Linked DNA regions of Homo sapiens: regions 2, 3, 4 and 5 are each linked to region 1. Evidence: promoter capture Hi-C in 16 types of primary human blood cells and fetal thymus (Javierre and others, 2016). All regions are on one chromosome and are shown on one strand. The core of a region is centred on a gene start or on the middle of the fragment in contact, and the rest is flanking DNA. Distances in the headings are between cores, read along the strand shown. Region 1 holds the start of MAN1A2 (mannosidase alpha class 1A member 2). Region 2 overlaps GDAP2 (ganglioside induced differentiation associated protein 2). Region 3 overlaps CD2 (CD2 molecule). Region 4 overlaps GDAP2 (ganglioside induced differentiation associated protein 2). Region 5 overlaps CD58 (CD58 molecule).

Evidence for each region. The method cuts DNA at HindIII sites, captures the fragments that hold promoters and counts their contacts. A CHiCAGO score of 5 or more calls a contact.
Region 2: a fragment that was not itself captured here is called in contact with the fragment with the promoter of MAN1A2 in region 1 in 5 of 17 cell types (naive B cells, total B cells, megakaryocytes and 2 more); the score reaches 8.4 in naive B cells.
Region 3: a fragment that was not itself captured here is called in contact with the fragment with the promoter of MAN1A2 in region 1 in 1 of 17 cell types (non-activated CD4 T cells); the score reaches 5.0 in non-activated CD4 T cells.
Region 4: a contact is called between a fragment that was not itself captured here and the fragment with the promoter of MAN1A2 in region 1, in 2 of 17 cell types (total B cells and naive B cells). The highest score is 6.8, in total B cells.
Region 5: a contact is called between a fragment that was not itself captured here and the fragment with the promoter of MAN1A2 in region 1, in 1 of 17 cell types (activated CD4 T cells). The highest score is 5.5, in activated CD4 T cells.

Annotation. Positions count from the first base shown.
Region 1 is chr1:117,365,626-117,369,684 of GRCh38, forward strand. MAN1A2 (mannosidase alpha class 1A member 2) reads left to right here and starts at 1,824. Exons shown (of 13, transcript NM_006699.5): 1 at 1,824-2,860. The coding sequence starts at 2,559. RefSeq lists a silencer at 1,060-1,879 and an enhancer at 2,750-2,889. The HindIII fragment of the contact is 7,016 bases long and covers 1-3,328 here.
Region 2 is chr1:117,888,859-117,892,663 of GRCh38, forward strand. The region is part of intron 8 of GDAP2 (ganglioside induced differentiation associated protein 2); the gene reads right to left. Among named protein-coding and RNA genes, the nearest start is that of GDAP2, 39 kb to the right of the region's middle. The HindIII fragment of the contact is 915 bases long and covers 1,928-2,842 here.
Region 3 is chr1:116,767,825-116,771,826 of GRCh38, forward strand. It overlaps CD2 (CD2 molecule), which reads left to right. Exons shown (of 5, transcript NM_001767.5): 5 at 640-1,405. The coding sequence ends at 959. Among named protein-coding and RNA genes, the nearest start is that of CD2, 15 kb to the left of the region's middle. RefSeq lists enhancers at 1,393-2,892, 1,393-2,692, 1,393-2,492, 1,825-2,354 and cis regulatory regions at 1,840-1,860, 1,928-1,951, 2,026-2,048, 2,123-2,154. The HindIII fragment of the contact is 2,122 bases long and covers 1,393-3,514 here.
Region 4 is chr1:117,907,267-117,911,063 of GRCh38, forward strand. All of the region lies in intron 5 of GDAP2 (ganglioside induced differentiation associated protein 2), which reads right to left. Among named protein-coding and RNA genes, the nearest start is that of GDAP2, 20 kb to the right of the region's middle. The HindIII fragment of the contact is 1,244 bases long and covers 967-2,210 here.
Region 5 is chr1:116,559,557-116,563,136 of GRCh38, forward strand. The region is part of intron 1 of CD58 (CD58 molecule); the gene reads right to left. It overlaps LOC105378925 (a long non-coding RNA gene), which reads left to right. Exons shown (of 3, transcript XR_947739.2): 3 at 1-1,631. MIR548AC (microRNA 548ac) reads right to left here and starts at 555; the gene lies at 468-555. RefSeq lists enhancers at 123-362, 2,962-3,111. The HindIII fragment of the contact is 813 bases long and covers 1,444-2,256 here.

The DNA of each region.
Region 1 (4,059 bases), core at 574-3,073:
GGGAAGGCTAAAAGTTTCTTATATCTACTCTTCACAAATGTTCAACATAAATCTCACTAGGGACCGGGCACTCCTTGCTTACCAGTCTCCCTGGGTGAACTGGTGAGAGGTGGCCCTCAATATTTTTACTTTTTATTTGGTGAAGCAGGATCAATGACAATGACTTTTGTCATGTGGTAGGCAGTTAGATATGCAGAGCTTCTAGAAATAATGCAGACTGGGAGACTGGAATGTAGTTACAAGTGTGCCAATGAACATGAGACTTTTCTGCTTGATTTTTAAGCTAAGGCTGACTTACTCTCCTGACATTTAAGGGCCTCCTCTCCAATTCCCAGTCATCAGTAAAGGATGTGTACAGGGAATGACAATATTAGAACAAAAACAACCTGCAAGTAAATCGGATGCAAGAGTCTATGTATCTTGCAAGGAAATCTTTTGCACTTAATCACAACATGGCTCTCCTCAATACTACGGAGAACAGAATTGATTCAGATTGTTTTTAAGCCTGAACGTAAACAATATTGTCGCCTTTTTGGGTTTCAGCACCTCCTTATTCATCCATTTTCTCTTTTATGGGAAGGGGGTTGATGAGGTGTGTGAAGATGATAGAACGTGCCCCAGAAACTGAACAATGAAGAGACGCCTGTCATATCGGGGGTACCTAGATTCCTCTGAAAGGAAGCCCAGCTGAAGGAGCAGGGTCACCACTTTATTTTAAAAACGTAACATGGCACATGTTGGTGCTCTATTAATCGAGCCTCGGGGGCCCAATAACGTGAGCATGGGCTGCTGCGTGGAAGTTTGAGACCCTGTTGCTGAATCCTCGGGCCTGACGGTCTATCGCTGAAGACAAGACTTCCAAAGAATCACAGTAAACGTTAACCTAAGCCATCAGAAGCCATTAACTCCGGTGACACTACATTTCAGCGAAACCTTCGCGACCCAACCCCTCGCTCCCTCTCGCCCAAACGCTGGGTCAACCCCACGAACTGGCGGTGGCAAGGCCCTGGGCACCGGTGAAGTTCTCGTGGCAGCGCAGATCGGCGACCTTCTCTTCTTTCGCGCTCAGACGGCGGCGGCAGCAGTACGCTTTCGGGCTGCTGGAGCCGGCAGCGGCGCGAGGCCGGAGCCCGGGCAGCCAGGCTGGGTGGGGGAGGGGCGGCGGCAGCGGAGCCGGGAGCGTGCGCGCGCACCTCACACTCCGCCGCCCGGGGACGCCCACTCGCGAGCCGGGGCCGGTAGGCCGGCCCGGGTCCCATCGCCCCCGCCCTCCGGTTCCTCTCCGGCGTGAGCCCAACGGGTGTCGGCCCAGCAGCTGCTGCGCTCACCAGGCCTGGGGAGGCAGGGTACGGGGACCGGGCCGCAGCCCCGAGCGGCGTGGGCGCGCTGCCTCTCTGGCAGCCGCCGCCAGAGCCAGCAGCTGCGAGCCACCGGAGGCGGCGCGGAGGAGGCCCCCGCGGCCGGGCAGGAAGGAGACGCGGCCGACCTCTGCCCGCCCGAGGCGCGGCTGCTCCCGCGCGCCCAGGCCCTCCCGCCGCTCCAGGGCTGAGTGAGGAATGAGCCGGCGCCTACCCCGGGCTCTCGGAGCGTGGGCCCCGGCTCGGCTTCTTAGGCGCGAGGGCTCGGCCACTGCGGCCGGCGGCCTAGCTCGGGGAGCAGGCGCCGGGGTTCACTGAACCGGCCGCGGAGAGGAGGAGGAGGAGGAGGAAGAGGAGGAGGAGGAGGAGGAGGAGCTCGGCGGGGGCGGCCGCCGCGCCTCCCCTCCCCCAGGACACGCCGGGGCTTCTCAGTGGCCGCCGGAGGAGGAAGTTCCGCTCCCTGACAGACCCGTGCGGTAGCAACAGCGGCGGCGGCCGCGGCGGCTGGCCGGACTCAGGTGTTTCGGACGCTATTGCCCTTCGCGCCAGCCGTCGAGTGGGCAGCAGCGGGACTCAGCCGGGCGCCAGGTTCCTGCCAGGCAGCGCCGGGAAGCGCGGGCGGCCGAGAACTCCTTCCTGCTACTTCGCCCAGCGCCGCTGCTTCGGCTTCCCAGCGAAGTGGGAGACCTTCCTCCCTGTTTGCAGACGTCCGTGGGAGACCCTTATTTTTTCCACCGCTAAGGTTAAGAGATTCTGGAATAGAAGCGTCGAAGGAGATCAAGTGAACCTTCTACAACTCCTCGGATGTCGCCAGTCTCCCTTTCGGGGCGGAAGACTACGTTTGAGCATCTCACTGAGGTGCAGGAATGGAAGAACCCACCTTGCAGCTTTTCTGCAGTGTGGCTTGCCTGATCTACCCCTAGGAATGAAGAGGAGGCTTGTAATAATCCGATGAAGTACAGATGTTGAAGAGGATATCGCAGGACCTAAACTTGTGATCGTTTGGGGGAGGTCACACACGTTTCTGAGTGGGAATGGATGGGCGTGAATGACGTGCCCTCTTAAAAAGCACAACAGTCCTTTAAGAGGAGCAAAATTGAGTTTTCCCATTTTGGCCAAGATTTTGAAGACAGTTCAATGTATTCTACATTTGACATAAGATGAGAACTTTCTAAAGTATTCTCTCCAAGAGCGTAAACGATGACTACCCCAGCCCTGCTGCCCCTCTCTGGACGTAGGATACCACCTCTGAACCTGGGGCCGCCTTCCTTCCCACATCACAGGGCTACCTTGAGACTTTCTGAGAAGTTTATTCTTCTCCTTATTCTTAGTGCCTTCATCACTCTGTGTTTTGGGGCATTCTTTTTCCTTCCAGACTCTTCAAAACACAAACGCTTTGATTTGGGTTTAGAAGATGTGTTAATTCCACATGTAGATGCCGGTAAAGGGGCTAAAAACCCCGGAGTCTTCCTGATCCATGGACCCGATGAACATAGACACAGGTTTGTTTATTTCAGAAGTTCTGGTACTAACATTTGGCAGAGCAAGGTACGGTGATTGGATCGAATCTGTCTTTTTTTTTTCTTGCAGTAAAATGTAATTTTTCGAGTCATAAATATTGTATTGTTACTTCAAGACTGGCTGAATAAAACCATAGACTGGAGGGACTCTACCTCCAGTCTATGGTAGAGTCCATAGACTGGTAGGACTGGAGTCCTACCTAAGTCGTTCTTCTCTTCGGTTTTATATAAGAAAAACATTTGCGTTCAGAGTTGTGTCTAATGTGGACATCTGGGAAGGGAGGTATGAAAACTTAACCTAAAGAAATGGTGACATAAGCTGTGCCTGCATTTATTAATAACGTGTTGGAGTCAGTCATTGTGCCACCATGTGAAATCAAAGCATCGAACCTTGACAGCTCTTTTGGGTGTGCTCTCCCAGAGGGCTCTCGTTTTCTGGCTTGTAGTTGAAGCTTAGTAGTGAGTCAGCTTTTTAGGATGACAAACGTGGGCAGAATATACCTGTCATTTCTTAACGTGAAAATATCCTGATTTTTGTTCTTTTTTTGGGGATGTGTGTTGGTGCTGTATATGAAATCAGTTAAGTTAAAAGGTATTGAATCCTAAGTTATTGCACTTTGTGAGGCTTGTAGACAAGATTTATTTTTGTGAAACTTAATTTTGCTCTCTCTTTTAATGTAATAGATGGACTGTGTCAAGCAACTATTGGAATTTGGTTGATTAAGGGGTTCACATTCTTTCAGATCACTAAATCTAAAGTGAGCTCTGGGGAGAGCATAGCCAAACTAGGATAAAATGGGAGCTCTAGTTACAATTTTTATAATTTTTATATTTGTACTCAAGAGTTTGGGAAAGTAGTTGACTTTTCTTAAACCTGCCATCTTTTCCTTGTTTCTTAAAATAATTCTTGAGTATGTGGGAAAAAAAATCATGTGCTTGAATTCATTTCCCATCTGATGATAGTTTTAACTTTTTGTCAAGCACCGAAAAAGCTTAGGTTCACGTGTAAGCCTACATTAAATATTTGGGAAAATGCACTGTTTTATGAGAACTGGTTTTTCTTTTTTTCTCAACCTAGTTAATTCATTACTTGTGTGATGGTTCTTTGACTTTTGGATGAATTTTATGGAGTAGTTACTTCTAATATTGTTTCATGCCATTCTTTTGTAACTAAGTTAATT
Region 2 (3,805 bases), core at 1,135-3,634, 520 kb after region 1:
TAAAGTACAATTGCACAACTGAAAATATTTAATGGGAAGTCTGTCACATACAGACTGAAATCAACAAGTGACATGCCTGTTAGTTTCACAGATATTGTTACTGCTTGTAAAAAACACAGTGTTACTGCATTAGTTCTATAGACTGCCTTCTCAAATTTGTGATTTACCAATCTATGCAAATTGAAAAGTCAAAGACAGTAGCTTTTAATTTTGTTTCAAAATATAATTTCAAAGTCAAGAAAATGCCTATGTTTATTGTAGTTCTCCCTAAATCATATGCACTATTCCATATTTTCATACAGTCATTTCCTATTTACACTAAATCAAAATTCTATTTCTTTACTTAAAAAATTATTTTCTTTGACAAATAATGTATGTAATGTATTGATATACGGATACATTGTAAAATGGCTGAATCAAGCTAATGAACATATCCATTATCTCACATATTTATCATTTTTTTTTGGTGAGAACAGTTAAAATGTATTCTTTTATCAATTTTCGGGTATACAACACATTCTTATTAACTACAGTCACCGTATTATATAATAAATCTCTTATTCCTCTCGTCTAACTGAAATTTTGTATTCTTTGACCAACATCTCCCCAATCCCACCCCAATACCACCAGCATTTGATAACCACTTTATTCTCTGTTTTTCTGAGTTCAGTTTTTTTAGGTTCTACATATAAGTGAGATCATGCTATATTTGTTTTTCTGTGCTTGACTTATTTCACTTAACATACTGTCTTATATCTTTAGTATGAAGGTTAAAAGACAAAACTATTAATAATAGCAACAATAATTTGTTAAGAGACAAAAATAATATAAAAACGTAAATTATGACATCAAAAATGTGGCAGTGAAGAATAAAAGTATAGAGTTTATTATGTTTTTTAAATCATTCTATTATATACTAATTGTTTATAATGAGACTAAACAGCAAAATGTATATTACATCATATGGGCACCACAGTATCTAGCACAAAGCATATAACAGGATTCAATTAATACCTATTAACTTCTATACTCTGTTCATGTATCCATTGGCTCATTTTTCAAAGATTTATTGAATAAATGCAGTGTTTGCATCATAGTAGGTACTAAATTCTTTGCTAAATGAAATAATAAACATGAGTATTATGTAAGGTATTTTGGGGCCTGAGATGAATTAAAAAAGGCTCTTGAGTTTAAGGTTGCATATGTGAGACAGACATATTACAGTACGAAGAAAATTAACTTTGTAATAAGAACAAGACAGGTAACCAGAAGTCTAAATACTCTATCAATCAAATATGTATGCTGAGAAGGGGACTGGTGGTGGGGAAGGAGGTGGGGTGAGAAGGAGCAGAGTGGAGGCAAATTCTAGACATGTCGTAGAAACAAATGCTCCCTTCTTTGTATCCCCAAAGACTTCTACCATGTTCAGTGCAAGATTTTACACACTTATTGAAAAGGCTATTTCTATTACATTAGACCACCAGATAGACAATATGTCATATTTGTCTCTCATTTCTAGCCAATTCCTAGGGTAGTTCCTGACACTCAATCTCTATATCTATATCTATATCTATCTATATTCAATGAACTCTGAAAAAAATTTTTTTTAACTGGAACTCAGGTGTACAAAATGGAATACATCATCTTTAATTGAAAACACTCGCATAACTGGTATATGCATGGTCCACTTAGAAGACTAGTTATATAATTATTTATCTTTAATGAAGTAATAAGCACCCTAAAATCTACCACTATAACAAAAATTAGCACTTTCACAATAACCTTCATCTAACCATGTGCTACTTCCCACCGTTATCTGGAATTCCAGGTTAATCATTTATTGCTTTCCTTTTTATATTGTTTTAAATTCATCTACATGTAGTCAATGTAAGACATTATTTTTTGTTTGTTTCTAACTATTTAAAAAAGCTTATCATGCTGTATGTAATCTCTTGGGTCTTACATTTTTGACTTATCATATTGCTAACATTCATCCGTATCACTGGATTTCAATGTCGTTGATTGATTTGGACAATCACAGGTTGAGCATCCCAAATCCAAAAATACAAAATCTGAAATGCTCCAAAATCCAAAACTTTCTGAGTGCCAACATAACAATTAAAACAAAAATGCTCACTGGAACATTTCGGATTTTTGGGATTTGGGATGTTCAACTGGTAAGTACGATACAAATATTTCAAAATCCAAACAAATCAGAAATCTGAAACACTTCTGGTCCCAAGAATTTTGGATATGGCATACTTAATCTGTATATATCATGTATTCATACTAGATAAAAACTATAGATTTTTTTCATTCACTCTCTCACTGATGGGCACTTGGGCTGTTTCCAGGGTTTTGCTATTGTGAAGAGGGCTACAATCAACTTGTTTTGCGTGTCTCCTGGTATACATGTGCATGATTGCTCTTGAGTAGGTACCAATGAGTGAAAGTGCTAGGTTACAGGGAATGTTTAATTTTAGGAGATAAGGACAAACCTCTTTTCCAAAGCATTGCACCAAATTATACTTCTATAAGAAGCATATGAGACTGTGAATCCCTGTCCTCACCAACACTTGCTACTATTAGATGTTTTAGTGTTTGCCAGTTGGATAGGTTAGAAATGGTAAAGCATTTCTCTGGTCAGTAATGAGGTTGAGATTCTGCTCATGTTGACTTGATTCTATGAGATGCCTGTTCCTATCATTTTTCCATTTTTTATTGGGTTATTTGATTGTTTCTCACCAAGTTGTAGTTCTTTACACATTCTTGATGCTGATCATTTGTTGTGTGTTTTGTGAATATCTGCCCCCATTCCGTAACTTGCTTTTTACTTTGTTTAAGCTTGGCTCTACTTTCAAAAGTTCTTAATTTTAATATAGTCAAAACTATTTTTTCTTTGGTGGTAAATGCTTTTCATGTCTTTAAAAAAATCTTCCCTTTCTCTAAGGTTTGAAGGATACTAGCTTAACTTCTTCCACAGGTTTCAGAATTTTTAAAAATTTAAGTCCTTAATCTATCTAAAGTTGATTTGTCCATAGTGTGAACACAGAATTAGTATAAACTCTAAAATGTTTAAACCTTGATTGATGATTAACAACTTGAGATCTAAAGATAGACTTTGGTTGACAAAATCTCTATGAACATATTTGTGGGGAGAAGTTTATAGTTTACATCAGATTCTTAAAGGGTTCATGATTTTTAAAAGGTTAGAATCACTGCTGAGACACTGGTCCTGTTCTGGTTTCTAAGGACCATGCAACAACTCATGATTGCAATCTTCATCAGGTTTCTTCTTTATTCTAATTAAGTCTCTGCCATTACCACTATAGATTGTGTAAGTCTGATTATTTAGTCATTATTTTAAAAAAATCACCAGTTGGGAAGAAAGAGTAAAAGCAAAAAGACTGTTACTCTTCTCACTCAATAGACAATACCCTCCTTTTTTTCTAAACTTCATTATTCAAAGAATATTTCATGTTTTCTATTACATTTCTTATAAACAGCACCTCACTTTTTGCTATAGTGTTTTGTTTTGTTTAAAGGAAGACATGCAATCTTTTGTTCCAATCCAAAAATCAAAACAAAGCTAAAAGGAAAATATGAACTCAAAATAGTTTCTGGGTTTCCTACAGGATATTTCCTAAATATCCTATATAGAGTACTTTCTTATTCCAAATAAACAAACTTCTATTATTTTATGAGTAAATATAATAATCATGGATAAATAATCGTACAAAATATGTCAAAATGGCAGAAAAAAATAGCCACTACAGTGCTCTAAATGCAGAAACACTAATTAGTT
Region 3 (4,002 bases), core at 1,204-3,703, 600 kb before region 1:
TAGGCCTGCTTTCATGGACTGAAGTCACACAAAGAAGAAAATCCTGAAGGGTGAGGAGAGGAGGAGTTCTTTCCCTCCTAAGGCCAAGAACATAGGTCTTGAATTTCTGAGAAGCGAGTAAATTTCTAAGGACAAAAAGTTCCTTGCATGTGTTCCAACCTCTTGCCGGAAGGTGGATTGCATGACAGTAGAATTGGGGGAAAGGCAGATCTAACATAGAAATGCCTCAGAAGGAATGTAGTTACTAATATCCTCCATGACTGCTCATAACCCCTTCCCATGCGCTCTAACCATGAGGTTCTTGCTCTCAGGGAACAATTTCTAGGTCAGCACAGAGGTAGGGTTCCAGGTCTGCGTGCTCTCTCTGATCATGGGAGCCCCAGGCACAAAGCCCTCCACCCATGTGTCTTCTTCCTGCTGATTCCTTGAGTTCTCTTGTCCTAGGCTTTCACTCTACCTTATGGTGAGCACTTCTTTCTCTCCTACAAGCTTAGAGTTCTCAGATAGTAGGGGCAACTTCTGCTTCCTCATTGCATCCCCCAAAGCAGCTAGCATGGCGCCTTGCATATAAAAGGTACTCAATATTTACATTGATTTCACCTGGCCAAGATGAACTCTATTGAGGTTTTGTTGTTGCAGATGAGGAGCTGGAGACAAGAGCCCACAGAGTAGCTACTGAAGAAAGGGGCCGGAAGCCCCACCAAATTCCAGCTTCAACCCCTCAGAATCCAGCAACTTCCCAACATCCTCCTCCACCACCTGGTCATCGTTCCCAGGCACCTAGTCATCGTCCCCCGCCTCCTGGACACCGTGTTCAGCACCAGCCTCAGAAGAGGCCTCCTGCTCCGTCGGGCACACAAGTTCACCAGCAGAAAGGCCCGCCCCTCCCCAGACCTCGAGTTCAGCCAAAACCTCCCCATGGGGCAGCAGAAAACTCATTGTCCCCTTCCTCTAATTAAAAAAGATAGAAACTGTCTTTTTCAATAAAAAGCACTGTGGATTTCTGCCCTCCTGATGTGCATATCCGTACTTCCATGAGGTGTTTTCTGTGTGCAGAACATTGTCACCTCCTGAGGCTGTGGGCCACAGCCACCTCTGCATCTTCGAACTCAGCCATGTGGTCAACATCTGGAGTTTTTGGTCTCCTCAGAGAGCTCCATCACACCAGTAAGGAGAAGCAATATAAGTGTGATTGCAAGAATGGTAGAGGACCGAGCACAGAAATCTTAGAGATTTCTTGTCCCCTCTCAGGTCATGTGTAGATGCGATAAATCAAGTGATTGGTGTGCCTGGGTCTCACTACAAGCAGCCTATCTGCTTAAGAGACTCTGGAGTTTCTTATGTGCCCTGGTGGACACTTGCCCACCATCCTGTGAGTAAAAGTGAAATAAAAGCTTTGACTAGACCCGTGTCTGCTCATTGTGTGAAGGATCCCAGTGTCGAGGAGAGGAAGCTGCCGAATAAGAAAGAGCCTCGCTGGTGTGACAGCAGGATCAAATTCAGTCAACTCAATCCGGCTGAGACCTCCTTAGTCCTCACCAGAATGACCCGAACATGCTCCCCAGGTCTCAGCTGCAAAGCTGGGTCCAACAACCTATTTGTAGATTTCCATAATGAATTAAAGCCTCCATGCACAAACGTTAACAGGAGTCACCAGAAAACTTAACATTTTAGGTCTTACTTTCTTGACTGTTCAGACACGGTCATAATGACCTGTACTGTCATCCTTCAAAACAAGGGAATCTATGGATACTGGAGGTGTCATGAACTCATCAGATGACATACAAAAAGATAGGCTAAGAGACAACTCAGTTGAATCAAATCTTAAGTGTCTTAAATGACTATGATTAAAAGGTCAGACCCCATCCCCAGCTAGCAGTCATGCAGCTGTACTTTGAGGGAAGTGGGGAGAAAAAAATAGTTTTCAGTTAGAGTTCTAAAACAATAGGTGGTGAGAAGGCACCTGCTTTGAAATGCTGGTGCCTTGTCTGTGGTCCTGTCTGCCCGCCTTCTCCTTGGCTTCTTAGACTTGCTAAACCTTGTTACACTCTGGCAGGAAGCTCTGAGGGCTAAACCACAAAAACTAAGTACATTCAGGACTTCCTGTGACAGCTCACTGAGGATTGAACTACTTTTTCCTCTGAATCTGAGAGTCTATTTTTCCAGCAACCAGAGTTAATTACTAAGGGCAATGATGAATGAAACCTCATCGCCTCCCAAAATTCAAACACAAAATCCAGCTAGGTAACAATTGCCACAGGATCTACCCAGTAGAGAGATGAGGGCTCTGGCCGGGCATGGTGGCTCGTGCCAGTAATCCTAACACTTTGGGAGGCCAAAGCAGGTAGATCACCTGAGGTCAGGAGTTTGAGACCAGCCTGGCCAACATGGTGAAACCCCTTCTCTACTTAAAAAAAAAAAAAAAAAAATTAGCCGGGCATCGTGGCACGCACCTATAACCCCAGCTACTCGGGAGGTTGAGGCAGAATAATTGCTTGAACCCTGGGGTGTGGAGGTTGCAGTGAGGTGAGATCGTGTCACTTCGCTCTAGCCTGGGCAAAAGAGCAAAACTCCGTCTAAAAAAAAAAAGGAGAGAGAGAGAGAGAGAGAGAGAGAGATGAGGGTCCTAGCTCTGCCCCTTTCTCATTCTTCATGATACCCATGAGTGATTTCATTGGCTATCTCACCAGAACAGCTCATACGCCATTCCCTTAAGAAAATCTTCCCTGGTCTATTCAGCCCTGGGCTCTGCCTTTCTTCTGAACTCCTGTGGCATTACATATGGTACAAAACACATACACCCTATTCAATCCTTCATCGTTCATTCATTCAACGAACATTTATTGAACTTCTACTATGTGTCAGGCTCTGTGCTAGGCACTAGGAAAACAGAGGTGTACAATTGCATCTCTGCTTTCAAGGAGCTCACCACCTGGTAGGCAAGAAACGGACCAACCATGGGACAAATGCAATGCAGTATGATAAATATAGGTCAGAGGCAAGTGCATGAACCCAGAGGAAGGACTTTGAACCCAGACTGAGTGGTAAGACTGGGGTGACAAAGAGGGCTTCCTAGAGGAGGGACGTTTGGGTTGCGTTGTAATAGATTAATTGAACTGGTGAAGCAGAGGTACAGAATTACCCATGTAGAGGCAACAGCATGAGCAAGGCTCATTTGGCTTTCTGTTTACACAAACATGTAGTTTCTTTTTCAACTACTGTATTTAACTGATTTGAAGATGTCATTGATTTTTCAACTACTGTTTTCAACTTTTTGTATTTCTTTTTCTTTTTTAACAACTATATTTAACTAATTTGAAGATGGCATTGATTTTAAGTGGCATCATTCTTTTACATGCCACTAAGAAAGAGAAGAACACTTCTCAGTTGCATTGTAACAAATACTAAGATACAGTCAACTTTCAGTCACAATCCCATTCCTGAGATATTAAAATGTGAAAAAATGTTATTTTATGTTAGTGCATTTTAGAATTGATGAAATGCATAGTAAAGAAGCTTTTTGAGTACAATGACCATTTCTCAATATCGCTGCCAGCACTTTATTGAAGCTATCATTAGCCAATTGATTCAATGGGTGAGCCCAGTCCTGATGAAAGGAAGGGAAGTGAACATACACAACATGCTTGTCCTCCTTATCCAGGGAAGATAAGACAGATTCTCTGCCCTGCACCACCATTAGGTGGGAAACACGAACCTTGCTTAAGATTTGTGCTGCTGTCACCCACCTGTCTGACACTGTGTGACATCCCACTGAACCTGCCCCAGAGCATGGACATTCTGAGAAGTAGTCAGGCCAGCTGCGTAGGAATAGCTTGTAGAGCTTGTGAAAAAAAAAAAAATGCTGACACTTCTGTCAGTCAGGTTGGGGGCCAAATAAACATATTTTTAAACAACCTCTCCAGCTGATTCCAATGGGCATTCAAGTTGTAGACAACCTTGGAGACTATAGATAATGCAGTATTGTAAGAAAAATAAACAGTT
Region 4 (3,797 bases), core at 339-2,838, 540 kb after region 1:
CCTTCAATATTTTTTATTTTTTTGATATACTTATTCTCCTTAGCTCACTGATGTGCTGGATAGGTATTACCTCAAATGCTGATGGCTCCCAAATCTTTATATTCTTTATTCTGAGGAAAAGACCCAAATTACCTGATGCCTATTAGGTATATCTGCTTAGATAACTCACAGAGACCTCAAATTCAGTGTAGCCAAATTTGACCCCAACAGGTCCAAATCCTGACCGCCATCTTTTTCCGAACAAACCTGGTCCTTTTTACCTACATTCCTTATTTTGGTTACATATCAACATCCAACCAATCATCCAAGCTAGAATCCTGAATTGTCTTTGATGCTTCCTTTACCTCTTCCTTCATGCTGCATTTTCAAATAGTTCCCATGACTTTTAATTCTATTGCTAATATTTCTAACATTTATTCCTTTCTTTTGGCTGCTTTCAGGTTCTCAAGGCTCACACAGACTTTGGTAATAAGCTCTTAACTGCTCTCCTTGCGTCTTTTTTCCGCAAGTCTACATACTCACTGTTGCCTGAGTTATCTTCTCATGTTACCCGAGTTATCTTCTCATGTTACCCTTTTTAATAAACACTGGTGATGCTCTGCACTACTTACAGGTTAAGATTCAAAAACCCTAGCATGACTCTCTATACTCCAACGCCAACTGTCCACTTTCCCCCACTCAGCTCTTTAGTCCTGTTTTCAATTATTCCTCCCACATCTTATGCTTTAGCCAAATCTACTTTGCTGTATTCAAAACATACCACTTACTTTTATGATGCCCTGCCTCTGCTTGCATGTGCCTACCTTTGACTAGAGTACCACTCATCCACCATTCTCTTCTTTTGGTGAACTCCTACTCATTTTTCAAGACCTAGCCAAGAGCCATCTCCACCCTTCTTTATGCCCCTCCTAGAATCTTTTGAACACCCTTCATTTTAAGAATTTCTCACATTTTATAGCTAGACTAAGCTTTTTGAAGACCAAGTATATTTTATATTAATATTACTTTAATTTGGGGCCTAGCACACCTTACGGATGTGATATGCAATCATTCAAAAGTAACTAGTAACTGAATTAACAATTTATGGCTCAGTTACATATTGCCTGCTTTGTTCAACACTGTATCTCAAGAACCTAACAGAGCAAACCTATTTGTTAAAGGACTAAACAAACACTCATAACTCTCCTCCTGTTAGATGACAAATTTACTTTTTATTTTTTCCTCTATTCTGCTTTAATGCTTTTTCAAAAACGAACTTTCAAAAAAAGATTTTCAGCAGGACATGGAGGCTCATGGCTATAATCCCAGCACTTTGGGAGGTGAGGGCAAGACGATTACTTGAGCCTGAGTTCAAGACTAGTTTGGGCAACATAGCGAGACCCTGTGTTTACCAAATTTTTTTTAAAAAATTAGCTAGGTATGGTGACGCATGCCTGTAGTCCTAGCTACCTGGGGGGCTAACAAGGGAGGATCACTTGAGCCCAGGAGGTTGAGGCTGCATTGAGCTGTGTTTGCCCCACTGCACTGCAGCCTGGGCGACAGTGTATGACTCTATCTCAAAAAAATAAATAAATAAATAAATAAATAAATAAAGATTTTCTGTTTCCTATTTATTTGACACCAAGTTGTAATGTTCATGCATAATAGTTTCCCAGAATATAATTATATTATTTCCTTTGGAAGATAAAATACAATACCAAATAGCAACCAAATTGAATTCTCTCAGTGGAATTCATTTAGAAAATTAACTCTGCAAAAGCAGTGAAGAAGACTAATGTCATGACTCTAAGGTTTTAGTACTAAAGGCCAGGCCACGCTCTTCCTTTCAAAGTTTCATCTGTGCACTATACTCTGCAACCAACCACAATGTCCTGTGCTTAAATACCTAGTGAATACCCTATAATTTGTAAGAATGACATCTAGGACATTATAATTCCCCATCTGGAAACACCACGAGAACAAACACCTTCATCTTATTTCTCACCACTGTAGTATTTTGTATACAGCACATAGTAGTCACTTAAATTTTTGTTGGATGAATAAATAACCTGATAAATTTATTTCAATGCAGATATTTCTTTAGGCTTTTTCTGGAGAAAAACAAACTGCACATGAACTAAGAAAAAAAAAGCACGTGTCTTAATATATCTATCAAAAACATATTATTTAGGCTTCAAATGAAATAAATTTTGATAATAGTTTAATAAGAAAGCTTTTGATACTAAGGACTTCGAGTTATATCATTAGATTTGTTCTTGGCCCATATATGTTACAAAAGTGTATAAGCCATTTGTTTTCCAAATGCTTGATAAAGTATTCAAGCAAAAGGCATCATCTTCTGTGTAAGTGTTTGAATGAAATGCTACAGTTTTGCCACTAGATTTAAGGCCTAATAAGTCAAATGTGCCCACTTTTTAAGAGCTGTACATTTCCTTTTTGCTAATTATATTTCTAGAAACTGCTTCATCAAAGTCCCTTATACCCATTATTGATCTTTATCTGCTGTTACTCTCAAAGTTGACCTCTTTCATAGTACTGTATCAAGTGATTTGTCTGGGGCCACAGAGCTAGAGTTGGACTGGTAGAATTAGAACTAAAAACCAGTCTTCTTAACCCCCTATTCAGAACCTTTTCTACAAAATAATGCTGCCTCTTTAAAATAGAATCCTTATGATTACCTTAATAAAAAATAGATATATAAAAGAAGCTATGAGATGATATGACAAGGACTAAGTAAAATCAGAGAATGCAGAGACCAGCCAAAAGCCTTGTCAGGAGCAATTATATCAAGGGAGGAATTTTGCTTTCGTTAGGTACCATTTAGAAGATAGGCATGTAATAACATAGTAGTCTTCCACTGAAGCAGTTCTAACTCAAGCATAATGAATCATCTAGTATAACAGACAGGTTACTAGACCTGGGAGTCAGAAGGTCTGGATATATGCTCCAAGTCTGCATAACCCTCATAACAGGAGAAATTTCTGAGACCTTTTATTTGTACAACGGACACCACACTACCTAAAACACAGGGTTGTTAAGTAAAGTAAGTGGAATTTACTTGTCCCTTTTAAAAATATATATTTCTTGAGCAAGTACCATATGTCAAGCATTCAAGATAAAAAGATAAGATCCCTGCCCCTCAAGCTCAGTCTAATGTAATGTATATAAGCTTAATTATAAAATATACAAATTTACTATAAAATCCTTGAGCAGTTAGAATATTGGTTTTTAAAATAGGTTATAATTAAATAAGACTAAGACTGAACAGATACTCACCCTAAACTCCAGGCTACATAATAATAACTTATACATTCAAATATCTTTTTGGTATTTGTGGATATAAGGCTTTCAGCTCTTCGACTTTAAATTCTAGAGATAACAGGGGCTCTTAAAGATGATTTAGTATAGTTCGTCTCTGAAATGAGAAGTGTTTTCTATAACAGCTGCAACAGATGGTCCTGTAACCTCTGCATGAATGTTCCTAGTGACAAGAAGTTCGCTAAAATACTTTGCTGTTACAGTTAGTACTACTTCAAGTGGGACCAACATTTTCTTCCTTATAACTTGGTCTTAGACCTTGCCTTGTACAGTTGGAGTTCTTATCTACAATCCTGATGAGGATCTGTAAACTTCCTGAAATAACATGCAAATTCTGTATTTATGCACATTTTTCTTGACAAAGGGTCCATAGTGTTCTTTCACCAGATGCTCATCGTAGTTTATGACAATATCCCAAAGAACTGCTGCTTGAAAAATGTAGCACAGAATAAGTCCAAATGAGATTCCTTCAGATATTT
Region 5 (3,580 bases), core at 600-3,099, 810 kb before region 1:
GATTTCAGCCACACCACCACCAGTTTCCCTGCCCTCATCTACTTCATACTGAAACTGCAGCCACCTGTCTCCCAACGGTTACAAACCCTCGGTCCCCAAGGCCAGAGCAAGGTTCCCGGACCTTGCTCTCAGCTGTCAATCTGCCTCCTCGATAAGTTCATCAAGAATTAAGATGTTGGTTCTCTAAATCAACTTCTTTCTGTACTTTCCTTCTAATATGATGCTAAAATAGTTTCCTTTTTAATTCTTGTTCTTGCACTTAACCTATTTCTTCTTTCTCAAGATGTTTCCCTTTAGACCTATGCAATCCATCAAAGTAGCTACCAGCTACAAGTGGCTAGTGAGAACCTGAAATATGGTTAGTTCAAATGGAGATGTGTTCTGAGTATCAAATACACACCAGAATCTGAAGACCTGGTATTAAAAAGTGGAACATAAAATCTCTTGTTAATATTTTTTTGTAGTAACTACTAGGTTAGTGCAAAAGTAATTGCCGGTTTTTGCCATTAAAAAAAAATAGCAAAAACCACAATAACTTTTGCACCAACCTAATACATGTCGAAATGAAAATATTATGGATATATTAGGTTAACTAAAATATATTATTAAAATTAATTTCACATGTTCCATATTATACTTCTATTTGAGAGCACTTCTTTAGCCTGTTGTTTCAAGACACTCACATCCCACCTTTCTCAAAGGCCACATTTGTCTTTGACTGTTCTCACCTTAGATAGGATACAGCTGAGATCCACAGTATGCTTTAGGGAATAAGGTTCTTACTAGATCGGTTAAGGCTGTGAGTGTTTTTAAATCTATTCTCCAAAGTCTGATTCAAGGTATTTCAATACAGTACTGATCATTTCACTAAAATTCCTTGAGAATCCTTGTTATTTTCTAGATACTCAGTTCATCGTTGGGAAACTCTATTGCAAGTAGTTTACAATGGCACAGCCTCATTAGTTTCTTATTAATCTGATTTTTTATTTTTTTCTGAATGTGTATGTTAAACTTCAATTTTCTTCTAATTTTTAACTGGCATAGGAAGAAAATGTTCAAGAAACTACAGACTGGTCAGCCCAGTGGAAATTCAGGCACTAATCTCAACAGACATTTTGGGGAACATTGTAAAGTAAGCAAAGTTCACTAGAACCTATAAAGTAACCAAAAAGCATTTTCCTTGGAGGCTGATGGGCAGGCACTGAAAGTTATCTCCAAAGAGGAACTGCTAAAATGTTTTCCCCTCCTTTTCTAGGGACAGTCTCTGTATCTTATAGTCACACTTTATATTCAAACCTGAACTTATCTGAGAAAAGAGAAACGGCTGCATCCTGGTTTCACTTACAACCCTGAGATGGAAGTTGAGATTTGTCATTGCAGAATTTAAGGGTCTGTGTCCTTAAGTAAAACCTTCTGGTCACCCCTCAAGTAAAGCTTCAAAAAAGCTTAGGCACTTGTGCAGAAACAGCATGAGAAGAAACCAAAAGGCAGAAAACTTACACATATAAGGGCTGATTTATGCAAAGTTTCTACTTTTAAACAGAGAAACCAATACCTACCCTCAAAGCCTGTATTTACTAAAGAAATGTTAGAGTGACAAGGAGGTCAATAAAATAAATTATTCAAATCTGGTTCTTAAAAAGAGGTTCTAAGACTATTTTAAAACTTCTGAAAGATGCCCATCAAAATTAAAACAAAAAAACATAGCAACGAATACAATGAGTGAAACTTGATTAGATCCGGGTTTTTTAACAAAAGACACTCTTGTGACAAGTGGGGAAATCTGAATACGGGTAAAAGTTAGGTGATGTTACAGGATTAGTGTTAATATTTATAGATGTTATGATGTTATTGAGATTATGCAAAAGTGTCTAGGAGTGAAATGTGGGTACCTAGAGAATGTAAATATAATAATGTTAATAATAAATATGTCAATAAATTGCCATTGTAAATTCTATGTCCCAAAGAAGCACCCCTCACCATTACAAATTATGATATTAAATACAATTTTGCATGACTGGTAATTGTGCTGACCTATATTTCCCATGTTTTAGCAGAATTTCATTGGACAATGTATACATGTTGGATATAAGAAATCAGTAGTACTCATCTTCAAAAAGTTGCTTAGTGGATCTCAGGCTAGGGATACAACAGAGCATATAAAGGAATAGGTTCTGATTCAGAGAGAATCAAAGTTCAAGTTCACTCTGCCACTTATTTGCTGTGTGAACTTGGACACATTACTGAACCTACCTAAGCTTTGTTCTCCTATTAAATGTTCCCTATGTAATAAAATCAGTGTGACAATTAAATAAAAACATCTCAAATCTGAAGCATAGCTCCTGGCACAGAGCAGGTACTTACCTCCTAGTGGCTATTATTACTTACACTCTGTTATAACACTGGGCCTAGTTTTCCTATAGGAACACACAACACTATTTTAACTTGGATTATCTTTGCTAAATAAAAAAACACAGACTGTCTAAGTCTCAACTCCAGCAAAGCACATGAACAAGTCTCACATAATAATGTGAGATAATTTCAAATGGAGAAATGCTGGACAAATACATTGTCATCTAATGTTCAGATTCAACAATCTTTACTATTAAAAAAAAACAGATCAATATAAGGAAAATTTTAAAAAATAATACATGACTTCTGCATACAAGGAACTTAAAATCTAGTTATGCAGATAGTTGGCAATAAAGGATCTGTAAAATGTCAACAACAGCAGAATAAGACAGACTCTGTTAATAATAAAATAGTTCCTACCTTTTTATTTTTTATTTTTTTGCTCTGTTACCCAGGCTGGAATGCAGTTGTGTCATCATGGCTCACTGCAGCCTCAAATTCCCAGACTCAAGCAATTGCCAGGCTCATCTCAGCCTCCTGAGTAGCTGGGACTACAGGCGTGCACCACCACACCTGGCTAACTTTTTGTAGAGATGGGGTGTATTAGTCCATTCTCGCACTGCTAATAATGACATACATGAGACTGGGTAATTTATCAAGGAAAGAGGCTCAATGGACTCACAGTTCCACATGGCCAGGGAAACCTCACAATCATGGCAGAAGGCAAAGGAGAAGCAAAGTCATGTCTTAATGGTGGCAGGCAAGAGAGAGCGTGTGCAGGGGAACTCCCCTTTATGAAACCATCAGATCTTGTGAGACTTATTCACTATCACAAGAACAGTATAGAGGAAACTGCCCTCATGATTCAATTATCTCCACCTGGCCCTGCCCTTGACACACGGGGATTATTACAATTCAAGGTGAGATTTGGGTGGGGACACAGCCAAACCATATCATTCCACCCCGGCCCCTCCCAAATCTCATGTCCTCACATTTCAAAACACAATAATGCCCTTCCAACAGTCCCTCAAAATCTTAACTTATTCCAGCATTAATCCAAAAGTCTAAATCCAAAGTCTCATCGGAGATAAGGCAAGTACCTTCCACCTATGAGCCTGTAAAATCAAAGGCAAGTTAGTTACTTCCTAGATACAATGGGGGTACAGGTGCTGAGTAAATATATCCATTCCAAATGGGAGAAATTGTCCAAAACAAAAGGGCTACAGGC